Linked DNA regions of Homo sapiens: all the other regions are linked to region 3. Evidence: promoter capture Hi-C in human tissues and cell types (Jung and others, 2019). All regions are on one chromosome and are shown on one strand. Each heading gives the region's core, a stretch centred on a gene start or on the middle of the fragment in contact. The rest is flanking DNA. Distances are from core to core; before and after follow the strand shown. Region 1 holds the start of ACADS (acyl-CoA dehydrogenase short chain). Region 2 overlaps RNF10 (ring finger protein 10). Region 3 holds the start of CABP1 (calcium binding protein 1). Region 4 overlaps SPPL3 (signal peptide peptidase like 3).

Evidence for each region. Contacts are between HindIII fragments. The study calls those that stand out against the background at their distance.
Region 1: a contact is called between the fragment with the promoter of ACADS here and the fragment with the promoter of CABP1 in region 3, in 4 of the 25 tissues and cell types used here (IMR-90 fibroblasts, adrenal gland, heart left ventricle and 1 more).
Region 2: a fragment that was not itself captured here is called in contact with the fragment with the promoter of CABP1 in region 3 in 4 of the 25 tissues and cell types used here (aorta, heart left ventricle, neural progenitor cells and 1 more).
Region 4: a contact is called between a fragment that was not itself captured here and the fragment with the promoter of CABP1 in region 3, in 2 of the 25 tissues and cell types used here (bladder and stomach).

The regions. Positions count from the first base shown.
Region 1 is chr12:120,724,534-120,727,233 of GRCh38, forward strand. It overlaps ACADS (acyl-CoA dehydrogenase short chain), which reads left to right and starts at 1,293. Exons shown (of 10, transcript NM_000017.4): 1 at 1,293-1,398; 2 at 2,493-2,656. The coding sequence starts at 1,353. RefSeq lists an enhancer at 965-1,466 and a silencer at 1,103-1,612. The HindIII fragment of the contact is 31,377 bases long and covers 1-2,700 here.
Region 2 is chr12:120,560,512-120,563,211 of GRCh38, forward strand. RNF10 (ring finger protein 10) reads left to right here. Exons shown (of 17, transcript NM_014868.5): 7 at 215-375; 8 at 2,434-2,559. Among named protein-coding and RNA genes, the nearest start is that of POP5, 20 kb to the right of the region's middle. The HindIII fragment of the contact is 5,481 bases long and covers 1-2,700 here.
Region 3 is chr12:120,639,305-120,642,004 of GRCh38, forward strand. CABP1 (calcium binding protein 1) reads left to right here and starts at 1,322. Exons shown (of 6, transcript NM_001033677.2): 1 at 1,322-2,035. The coding sequence starts at 1,382. It overlaps CABP1-DT (CABP1 divergent transcript), which reads right to left and starts at 1,218. Exons shown (of 2, transcript NR_183426.1): 1 at 746-1,218. RefSeq lists silencers at 1,182-1,481, 1,702-1,801, 1,812-1,981, 2,202-2,301. The HindIII fragment of the contact is 37,846 bases long and covers 1-2,700 here.
Region 4 is chr12:120,763,439-120,766,138 of GRCh38, forward strand. It overlaps SPPL3 (signal peptide peptidase like 3), which reads right to left. Exons shown (of 11, transcript NM_139015.5): 11 at 1-1,632. The coding sequence ends at 1,561. Among named protein-coding and RNA genes, the nearest start is that of ACADS, 39 kb to the left of the region's middle. The HindIII fragment of the contact is 7,096 bases long and covers 1-2,700 here.

The DNA of each region.
Region 1 (2,700 bases), core at 43-2,542, 85 kb after region 3:
CAACTCACTTATTTCTCCCTTTTCTCCTGCTTCTTCATCGTTTCTTCCACCCAGGGCTGGTTCCCAGGTGGGATGACGGAAAGGTGAGGAAGCCCTTAGAGCATTTGCCAATGGGAGCCATTCATTTGACTTTAAAGTACTGAGAATTTAGAGGCGTTCTTTTAAATGCATTATTTAAAAAGAAAGGTAACACATTAAGGACTTTGCTGCATCTTTTGATTGGCTTTCTTCTAGGAAGTAGTGACCGAGGTTTCCACTTTCCTCCAAGAGGAAGAGACAGAAGTTTTGGCAAATAGGTCAATGCTGGGAACAGATGCCTGCCTGGCTGAGTGCTGGGAAAGAAAGGCAGTTGGAGGGATGTGTGGGTGCCTGGGAGGGCGTGGGTGGTGCCCAGGAGGCTATGGGAATCAGAATCACACTTGCACAAGAGAAGACCCTTATGGGACAAGTAAAATCAGCATAGTTTCTTGGGCGGGGCAAAGGTGTCCTGATGAGGATGCTAGGGGTCAAATATGTGTCTGGGTTCTGCCCCAATCGGGAATGAGACACAGTACTGAAGTGGAACGGGGGTAGCATCTCCACCCACCTTCACAGCCTCTGGGGAAAAGAAAGCTTTCCTTGCAGCCCAACTCCAGGGGCCTAAATATTGAGCACCAACACAAGACAGGTCCTTGAGCTTCTCGGAGCGAGTCGGGGAAGCAGATAATTTCAGATGCAAAGTGCCTTGAATAAACAGAACGAAAGATAGAGAGCCAGAGGGGGAGAAACGGCTTGGTGTGGTCAGGGCAGGCATCCATGAGACCTAAACGAAGAGGGGGCATTCCAGACAAAAGGAACAGTGATCACAGAGGCCCCGAGTCAGGAACCAGCTAAGGGTCTTAGAGAAGAGCTGCCTCGTAAAGCTAAGCAACAATAACCAGGGAACGGTGGGCATGGGCCCTGATAGACAAGGCAGGTCTTGGCTTTTTAAGCCATAGAATTGGATTTTAGGAGGGATGGGCCCGCCGACAAAGCCAACAAAGTTTTAACCCGAAGATCGCTATCTTATTTATGCTTTAAAAAGACCTCTCTGGCCTTTCTGCGAAGCTCTATCCTTAGCTTTCTCTTGTTAGCATTTTGATTAACGAATGTGGGCACGAACAGCCAGCTGACCGACCGCGCGCGCAGTCGAGCGTCGGTTCCTCGCCTTGGGAGGGACCACTGGAGGCCCCGCCCCCTGGCCGCGAGCGCACCTCGGCCCCGCTCCCGAGGCCCTACGGGCGTGGCCTCTGTCCCGGGTCCCGCCCCCCAGCACTCCGGAACAGCGCGCTCGCAGCGGGAGGTCGCGAAGCCTGGGACTGTGTCTGTCGCCCATGGCCGCCGCGCTGCTCGCCCGGGCCTCGGGCCCTGCCCGCAGAGGTGAGTGCGCTGGGGATCCGTACGGCGGGGCTTCAGCCCGCGTCTGGCCCAGCGGGCGGAGGTCCTGGCGGCCGGCTCTGTCAGAGCCGCTGGCAGGCGGAGCCCCACTCCGGGAGCGCTCACGGCCTTTGCCCCAGTTCTGCTGCTCCTTGCGCCGACCCAGCCCGGCCCTTCAGGCGTCCCTGGTTCCTGCACAGACCCCTACCCCCCGATTGACCCCAGCCACCAGCCCAGTTCCCAGTTCCCATATCTCCCTCCCTTCATTTCACCCCCACTAGAGGTTCAGGGTGCGTCCTTCTTCCGGAGCCAGGCCTGGGATTGAACCAGACCCGCATCTGTGACCTTGGGCAAGACAGCCCCTCCTCAGCCTCGGTTGGCCCATGTGTAAAATGTCCACAGAGAAAATCAGAGTTGTTGGGAGGATTAAATCATAGGGTATGTAAAGCACTTCGTGCCTGGCGTGTAACAGGTGTTCCACAAATGCTCGTTCTTGCTGGTTAATACAGTACCTTTCCCATCTTACGTGTCTCCAGTTGTAGCAGCCGTGACACATATAGCCACGGCTTCCTTTGCCTGGCCTGAATTACAAGGGGAACGCTACTGAGAACTGTGTTAAGCGCTAGTTAGTCTTTCTTTCGCACTCCGAGGAGCGGAATACTATTCGCCTCCACTTGTTATAGAAACGGAGGCTCACTGACGTTTAAAACCCTTGCCTAAGGTCACAGAGCTGAGGTCTTATTACTGTTGGTATTATACTGAGGACTGAAGGATGTAGTGTATGGAAATGTCTAGTGAGTGTACTAAGCATTCAGTTAGTATGGGGTTTTCAGTGGCCGCCATGGACATTTTGGGCTGACAGTTCTTTGTTGTGGGGGCTGTCCTCTGCCTTGTTGGATGTTCAGCAGGGATCCCGGACCCCTATCCACTGGGTACCAATAGTATTCCCCTGCTCTAGTTGTGACAACTAGAACTGGCTCCAGACATTGCCAGATGTCCCTTGGAGGGCAAAATCCTCCCTGGTGAGTTAGTGGGTCACTAGGATTCTTGGAGACCTCCTGCCTCCTCCTTCCACTCACTTCTGCCCTTGCCGGCAGCTCTCTGTCCTAGGGCCTGGCGGCAGTTACACACCATCTACCAGTCTGTGGAACTGCCCGAGACACACCAGATGTTGCTCCAGACATGCCGGGACTTTGCCGAGAAGGAGTTGTTTCCCATTGCAGCCCAGGTGGATAAGGAACATCTCTTCCCAGCGGCTCAGGTGAGAGTGCAACCTCAGCAGCCCACGATAGTGGTCTGCCCTCT
Region 2 (2,700 bases), core at 67-2,566, 79 kb before region 3:
TTTGACTACATCTCTGGGTTTCTTAGATTTCTTATATCAAGAGCAGAGCTACAGACCTTATTTTAAGACCATTGTTAAATTATTTTCTAGGAAATCATGCTAAATTACCCCATTTTCACCCCAGAGAAAAGGCTGTATTTGAAAATTCCTATTTAGCTACACCATCGTGAGCTTTGAATGTTGCATTTCTTTGATCTTGCTGGCATTCTTATAGATGAACAGCACAGCCAGTACTCCAAGTTGCTGCTGGCCTCTAAGGAGCAGGTGCTGCACCGGGTAGTTCTGGAGGAGAAAGTAGCACTAGAGCAGCAGCTGGCAGAGGAGAAGCACACTCCCGAGTCCTGCTTTATTGAGGCAGCTATCCAGGAGCTCAAGGTGAGAGGATGCATTGGAGATGCTAAACCTTTTCACTTTCTCGGCGTTCTGTGGTGAAAACCAGAAATGCTAAACCTTTTCACTCTGTCGGGGGTGAGATGATGGACGCTGGGGATTAAGTTAGTTCCATTCCACATTTAAGACAATAAGCAGAGAATGGCTAAAAAAGCCAATTTGTTTTGGGCTTTGTTTGATGACAGTAGAGAAGGTTTAACCTAGGGCTTTTAAAGCTCTTTCTAGAGCTGAAAGGAGCAAGTCAAAATGATTTTATAACTAATTGTGACAGTGGAGTTTTTTAGATTAGCTATGTTCTTAAAGCAAGTTAGAGTTCTTTGTTTTCTGGGAAAATACTTAAGATTCTATTCTAGAGGTGTTTTGAAAGACATTGTGGAGAAAGTATTATGGCCTGCCCAGTATGCCTTAGGAGTACCTGAAACGGCAAGAATTACACAAGAACAGAATTCCCTGGGTCTTTTATCTTCCACAACAGAGATTCTTGAAGCATCACAACCACTGGTTGTTAGGTCCCACTTTGAGATATTGATTGCATAGGTTAAGCTCAGTAGGCTCAGTAATTTGCATATAACAAGTTCTAGGGTGATTCTGATGGCTGCTCATCCCCAGACCACACTCCTGGAACCACTGATCTAGCTTAGAGCAATAGAAGCCCATATTTATTGAGTGATCAGCATTTGATAGGACTTGTGCTATACACATTTATCTCACTTAAGCTTCTAGTGTGGTAGATAGAACTATCCCCTTTCATGGATGAGGAAACTGAATCCTGGGTTGGGTAATTTGCTAGTAAGGGATGCAGCTGGTATTTGAATTCCCTTCTCCCTGACTCCCAAGGGCTCCTTGGGTAGAGTCCTGTGTATTTAACTTTTGCTTTCTTTCTATAATACGTTGCAGCCGTATTTGTTCAAATGCCATTACAGGCATAAGAAAGGCTACATAGAATTAGAGCTGTCCAGGCTGAGGTGGAGTTAGCTAAATCCTTCCTACTACTCTGGACCTCTGTCTGAGCATAGTTTGTAAAAACTAGGTTAGTTTCATGTTCTTAGATTTCTGTTCTGGAAGTTTTTTGTATAGTGTTGTTTGTGTCAGATTCTCTTTTATTTTTTTTAACTTTTAAGTTCAGGGGTACAAATGCAGGTTGTTACATGGTAAACCTGTGTCATGGGGGTTTGTTATACAGATTTTCACCCAGGTATTAAGCTTAGTACCCATTGGTTATTTTTCCTGATCCCCTCCCTCCTCCCACTCTCCACCCTCTGATAGGCCTCAGTGTGTGTTCCCCTCTATGTGTCCATGTTTCATCATTTAGCTCCCACTTAGAAGTGAGAACATGTGTGCGATATTTGGTTTTTCTTTTTCTTTCTTTCTTTTTTTTTTTTTTTTTTTTGAGACAGAGTTTTGCTCTCGTTGCCCAGGCTGGAGTGCAGTGGCGTGATCTCGGCTCATCACAACCTCTGCCTCCAAGGTTCAAGTGATTCTCCTGCCTCAGCCTCCTGAGTAGCAGGAATTACAGGCATGCCCCACCATGCCTGGGTTATTTTGTATTTTTAGTAGAGATGGGGTTTCTCCATGTTGGTCAGGGTGGTCTTGAACTTCCAACCTCAGGTGATCCGCCCACCTCAGTCTCCCAAAGTGCTGGGATTACAGGCATGAGCCACCACACCTGGCCGTATGTGTCTTTACAGTAGAATGATTTATATTCCTTTGGCTATATACCCAGTAATGGGATTGCTGGGTGAAATTTTATTTCTGTCTTTAGGTCTTTGAGGAATCACCACACTGTCTTCCACAATGATTGAACTAATTTACACTCCCCAGTGTCAGATTCTAAGCAGATTCCAATCCTTAGTGGGTATTGCATGCTTTTTGCTTCCTGTTTCCCTCAAAGTTGAGATATTTAAGCACCTAATTCCTTCCCATTGGGTCTCATTGCCTTTTAACTTTTGGTCCTGTTGAGAGGCCATTCTAAGCCCTTGCCCTTCAAGCTAAGTGTGTGTCTGGAAACTTAACCTTCTCTGGTGTTCTCTCTGGCCACGTTAGACTCGGGAAGAGGCTCTGTCGGGATTGGCCGGAAGCAGAAGGGAGGTCACTGGTGTTGTGGCTGCTCTGGAACAACTGGTGCTGATGGCTCCCTTGGCGAAGGAGTCTGTTTTTCAACCCAGGAAGGTTAGTGTGTTCCTGTTACTAAGTGGCTGCCGTTCCTCAAATGCTGTCATTGAGCTGGTAGGCATTACTGTGAGATCTAAACCTTCTCAAGAGAAGAGGGGACAATGAGTATTTTCTGTATGCTTGTTATTAGTTCTTTCC
Region 3 (2,700 bases), core at 72-2,571:
GCTGGAGTGTAGTGACCCAATCTCGGCTCACTGCAACTTTCACTTCCCGGGTTCAAGTTATTCTCATGCCTACAAGTGGCTGGGATTACAGGCGCCCACCACCACGCCTGGCTAATTTTTGTATTTTTAGTAGAGACAGGGTTTCACCATGTTGGCCAGGCTGGTCTCGAACTCCTGACCTCAAGTGATCCGCCGGTCTTGGCCTCCCAAAGTGCTGGGATTACAGGTGCGAGCCACTGTGCCCGGCCTCGTGTATCCTTTTAATGAGGCCGAGCGGTGACAAGACTGTGGATGGCATTGGGGCCAGGGACCAGAACAGGGAGAGCCTGGGAGGAACCCCTCCAGCCCCCCGCAAAGCTCAAGCACCGGATACTAAAGAAGAATGGTAGATGGGGCCTCACGATGTGCAGGGGGAAGGGAACTGGCTTAACTGGATGGTCCCCTGTCCGAGCACTGGGCTAGGCCTTTTGTGTGCATAGTATCGTCTGCTGTTACCAAGAAATTAGTTATGCTTATCATCTGCATTTTACAGAAGAGGAGAACAAGGCTCAGAGAGGTTGATGACACCTGCCCAAGTTACCCAGATGGTAGGTGGCAGAGCTGGGATTTGAGATTCAGATAAGGCCTGGGACGCTCCCTGGCTGCCCACCGAGAGCAGGAATTTCTGTAGCATCTAGAAAGGCAGGAAGGTGAAAGAGGGGACAAGAGCTGGAGGGGGAGCAAATGGGTCCTACCTGAGACTTACCATCATCAGGTGCTGCCAGACCTGGCTTCTCTTCTATTCTGAGAACTGATATCCTGTGGCTGACTTACCAGGGTCGTCCTAGTCCCCCCGCACGGTATTGGGAGTGGAGGCAGCCCCACACGGAGGCGCTGGGAGACTTTCCTCCCAGCAGTGTCCTGTCACTGCATTCCGGCCCCTGCGTTTGTAGGCAGTGATGTCACAGAGTGCCTTCATGCTCCTCGGGTCTCCGGTTCTCCCCGGACCTCTGTAGTCCTCATTGCCAAAGTTGTACCCCCTGGGGAGTGCACCCTGCCTGCATTTCTGGAGGTTCGGGCGGTTCCGGGGCTCTGCAGGAGCCTCCAGGCGTGATAAAGAGCGCTGCCGGCACTCCCGGGGTCTCGGCCTCTTTGGGGCCCATTGCCAAGCCCCTTCCCTCCTCGTGCTCCCGCTCCGCGTTGCAGCGTCCCCTTCGCCGCCAGGGGCCGCCCGGAAGCGGGGCTCCCCCAGGGCGGGGCGGGGCAAGGGGCGGGGCGCGGCGGTACCTGGGCCGCCAGGGAGCCGGGGGTGGGCTCTCCGGGGACAGCCGGCAGCGCCCCCAGATCTGCACCGCCAGCCGCCGGGAGCTCCGGGCTCCGGGCGTAGAGGCTGCGCTGTCACATGGGCGGCGGCGACGGGGCCGCATTTAAGCGGCCGGGGGACGGCGCCCGCCTCCAGCGCGTCCTCGGGCTTGGCTCCCGCCGGGAGCCCCGTTCTCTGCCCGCCGGGGGCCCCGCGCCGCGCCGCACCGCGCCGCCCCCGCCGGGCCATGCGAGCGCGGGCCCCGCCGCGATGAGCTCGCACATCGCCAAAAGCGAGTCCAAGACGTCGCTGCTGAAGGCGGCGGCGGCGGCGGCGAGCGGGGGCAGCCGGGCTCCCCGCCACGGCCCTGCCCGGGACCCGGGGCTGCCTAGCCGCCGGCTACCCGGCTCCTGCCCGGCGACGCCGCAGTCGTCCGGGGACCCCAGTTCGCGGAGGCCCCTGTGCCGGCCGGCGCCGCGAGAGGAGGGCGCGCGGGGGAGCCAGCGTGTGCTCCCCCAGGCGCACTGCAGGCCCCGGGAGGCGCTGCCGGCCGCGGCGTCCCGACCTTCGCCGTCGTCGCCGCTGCCGCCGGCCCGCGGGCGGGATGGGGAGGAACGGGGACTGTCCCCGGCGCTCGGCCTCCGGGGCTCTCTGCGAGCCCGGGGCCGCGGGGACTCCGTTCCAGCCGCCGCGTCCGAGGCGGACCCGTTCCTCCACCGGCTGCGCCCCATGCTCAGCTCCGCCTTTGGCCAGGTAAGGGCCGCGCCTCCCGTCAGCGCTCCCGGGAAAGGCGCTCGGGACCCTGCCGGCCGCGGTTGCGCGTCCACAGCCTCCTCCCGCGGCCCGTGGTCCCCCACGGATCACGCCTCGGCTCACCTCGTCCTCCCCGGGCCGGCGCCCTTGCCGGCACTCCTCCTCCCCGTGCCTGATTCAGCACCCCGTGCGCTGTCCACGCTCCGGGCCTCTTGGGGCAAGGCCCTCCCCGCTAGCCTCCCTCATACCCGCCAGAACCCGCCAGTCCTGGAAGAGAGCGACCTCTACGACCGTCCTGGAGATTTGCGGGGGTCAAGGAGGGGCGCTCCGAGCAGGTGGCGCCAAACCCACTCCTCTGGCCTCTGGCCAGTACCGCCAGGGAGGGACTCAGGAGAGCAAGCGGTTTGGAGTCTGGGGGTCAAGAGAGGGGACCTCAGAGAACACAGAATTACTTGAGGGCGAGGGACACTGGCCACTGCCTATCATGTCCCTGAAGGCCTGAGAAAAGTTAGGAGATCCAAAAATATGAGGAAAGAGAAGAGGTGTCTGGGTAGGCATGGAGGGGCATGCAGAGCTGTGGCTCAAACTGGAACTTTGGGGTGGTTTAAGGAGGCTGTCACTCTAGGGATGCCATTGGAAGGGTGAGAAAGGCCACAAAGAGGTCA
Region 4 (2,700 bases), core at 147-2,646, 120 kb after region 3:
GGGGCGGGGACCCTTGGGGAGAGGCTGGAACTCAGGGCCCTTCTCCAGCCTTTGTTGTCAGGCATCCTCATGCCAACCGCAGGCTTCTCTTTGCCTCTGAACAATGGGCACCTTCTTACCAGGCAGGGGCTGCTTAGGTAAAGGTCAGCAGACCTAACACTAGTTACTCCCAGAAATCTGGGCTTGCAGCAGAGACCACAGCACAGGGCCAGGCTCTCAGGACACAGCAGCTGGTTCTTTCCCCAGTTACTGGAATTTAGGGCCCATCTCAGAGGGGCATTTGACATGTGTCCCCAACACCCGGTTGTCACCACAGGTAAACCAAGACTATAATCACAACAGCAAGGACAGGATTGTGTTGCTTTTTTCCTTTTTTTTTTTCTTAAAGGAGTGAGGGCATGGAAAATATACAGCACACCAATGAAACAAAATGTCAAAAAAAAAAATACAAAAAAATAGAAAATAGAAAAATGTATTTACAAGTAGTACGTTACTATGATGAGAAAGCACAAAGACACCTGCTGCTATAATACATGCATTGGCTCGAGAAGAAACTACGGAACACCCTGCGAGGGAGAAGCCTAGAAAAGAAAGAAAGGGCCAAAAGGTTTGAACTCTTCATCCCTAATTTGCTACACTGATCAAAACCAAGTAAGGGCTCCTGAAGTCCATGAGTCTATCATCAATCAGCACAAATGCTATACTAGTTTGTAACTGCGGGGTCAGTTGTGAAGGGGAAGGACAGCAGCTTATCCATATACAAGGAAGCCACAGTAAACTGCTCGACATGCTCAAAACGACAGCAAGCCCCTGTCAGCTACACAGCGTGATCTTAGCAGGATTTCATTTTTGTTTATTCATATATATCTATGTGTGTGTTTATATATATATATGTACGTATGTATAAAAACCGTGCCCTTGTTCACTGCCAACACAACATCTGGGTGGACATGAACTCATTACAACAAATTCTTATGTGGATGTTGTAAGAAGTCACTCAATGTCTGTGGATTTAATAAGTCACTTCACACCACAGAAAATATTTAATAAATCCAAAAAAAGGAAAGAAGAATATAACGACAGAAGAGCTTCTGTCTCAGTTCTCTGAAACTGAGTCCCCTATAGGAAACTGGTCCCAAAGTTCTCGAGGGGTCATTGAAGAAACTTCGGTTTGCTAATTTTTTTCATCCTTTTAGTGTTCAAAAGTTCTAGAAAGACTCCTCGCTGTTTTCAGTTTTTAAACAGTCAAATCTCCATCTCCCCCAGAAGGTAACAGTCTGGTGCAGATCCATAAAAACGTGGGAGGAAGGCGCGCTGGGGAGAGGCCTGTCCCTCTTGGAAGGGGCCCCACCTCTACATCCGCAGGAAGAGAAGGAACCAAACAGGGCTCCAGCACCTCTCTCCTGCAAACGAGCTCCCTTTAAATGCCAAATCCAGTCACACGGCAGTTCCTTAAACACAGGTACATTTCTGAGTACCAGGCCAGCTCTAAGAGGAAACAAACCATGAGTTGAGAGAAAAGGACTATGACGGCCATCTGGTCACTTTCCACGTGATCCATCATACTTCCAGGAATCGGGAGCTGCTGGACTTGGAGTGGAAAGGCTCAGACCACATCCGCCGGAGGTCGCCCTGGGAAACAAGGGACTTTCTAAGTTACAGATTTAAACATGAGGCACACACAGCTGTCTGATTCTTTAAAAAAAAAAAATTTTTTTTCCAGGTATGAAGTCTTCCTATATATTGGCCAGGCTGGTCTCAAACTCCTGGGCTCGGGCAATTCTCCTGCCTCGACCTTCCAAAGTGCTAGGATTACAGGCATGAGCTGCTGCGCTTGGCCCCTTTCTGATATTTTTTTTTTTTGAGATGGGTTCTCACTCTGTCACCTAGGCTGGAGTGAGTGCAGTGGCGAGATCTCAGCTCACTGCAACCTCCGACTCCTGGGTTCAAGCGATTCTCTTGCCTCAGCTTCCTGAGTAGCTGGGATTACAGGCACTCACCACCATGCCCAGTTCATTTTTGTGTTTTTAGTAGAGACAGGGTTTCACCATATTGGCCAGGCTGGTCCTGAACTCTTAACCCGCCTGCCTCAGCCTCCCAAGGTGCGGGGGTTACAGGCGTGAGCCACCATGCCCCTGGCCCCTTTCTGATGCTTGATCTGAGATCAGATTGCTTCTGTGGGAAACCAAAGAGCATTTAAATCTTACCCATTCAAAAATAACCCACTATTTTTAGGAGGACTCCCTAGAAGGGGTGCTTTTAGGCTCCCTGAGCAAGAAAAGGGCTTTTATCAACTCTCTAGAGGTAGTGAGTCAAGTGAGCTGGGCAAGTAAGTTGACCTCTGTATCTGCTTCCTCATCTGTAAAACGGGGCTGAGAATAGATATCTGGGAAATAATGTGCTCTTGAACTCTGGTTTTATCATATGCTGCCTCAACACTATTCAATCTTAATTATTCCCAAACTTTAACGTAGTGTTAAGCTGTTAGGTGGCAGGAGGGCACTGCTTTGAACAGAAGCAGGAAGTACCCTCAGCTGGGCTCTGGGGCTTTCAATTAGTTATTCCTCGACCAGGTGGTGTAGTGGTCTAGCTCATCAGCATTTTCTGTCAGTGGCTGCACGAATCTGGAAGCGTTTGCTAACGCCAGGGTAGCGCGCGCGCGCACACACACACACACACACACACACACACACACACACA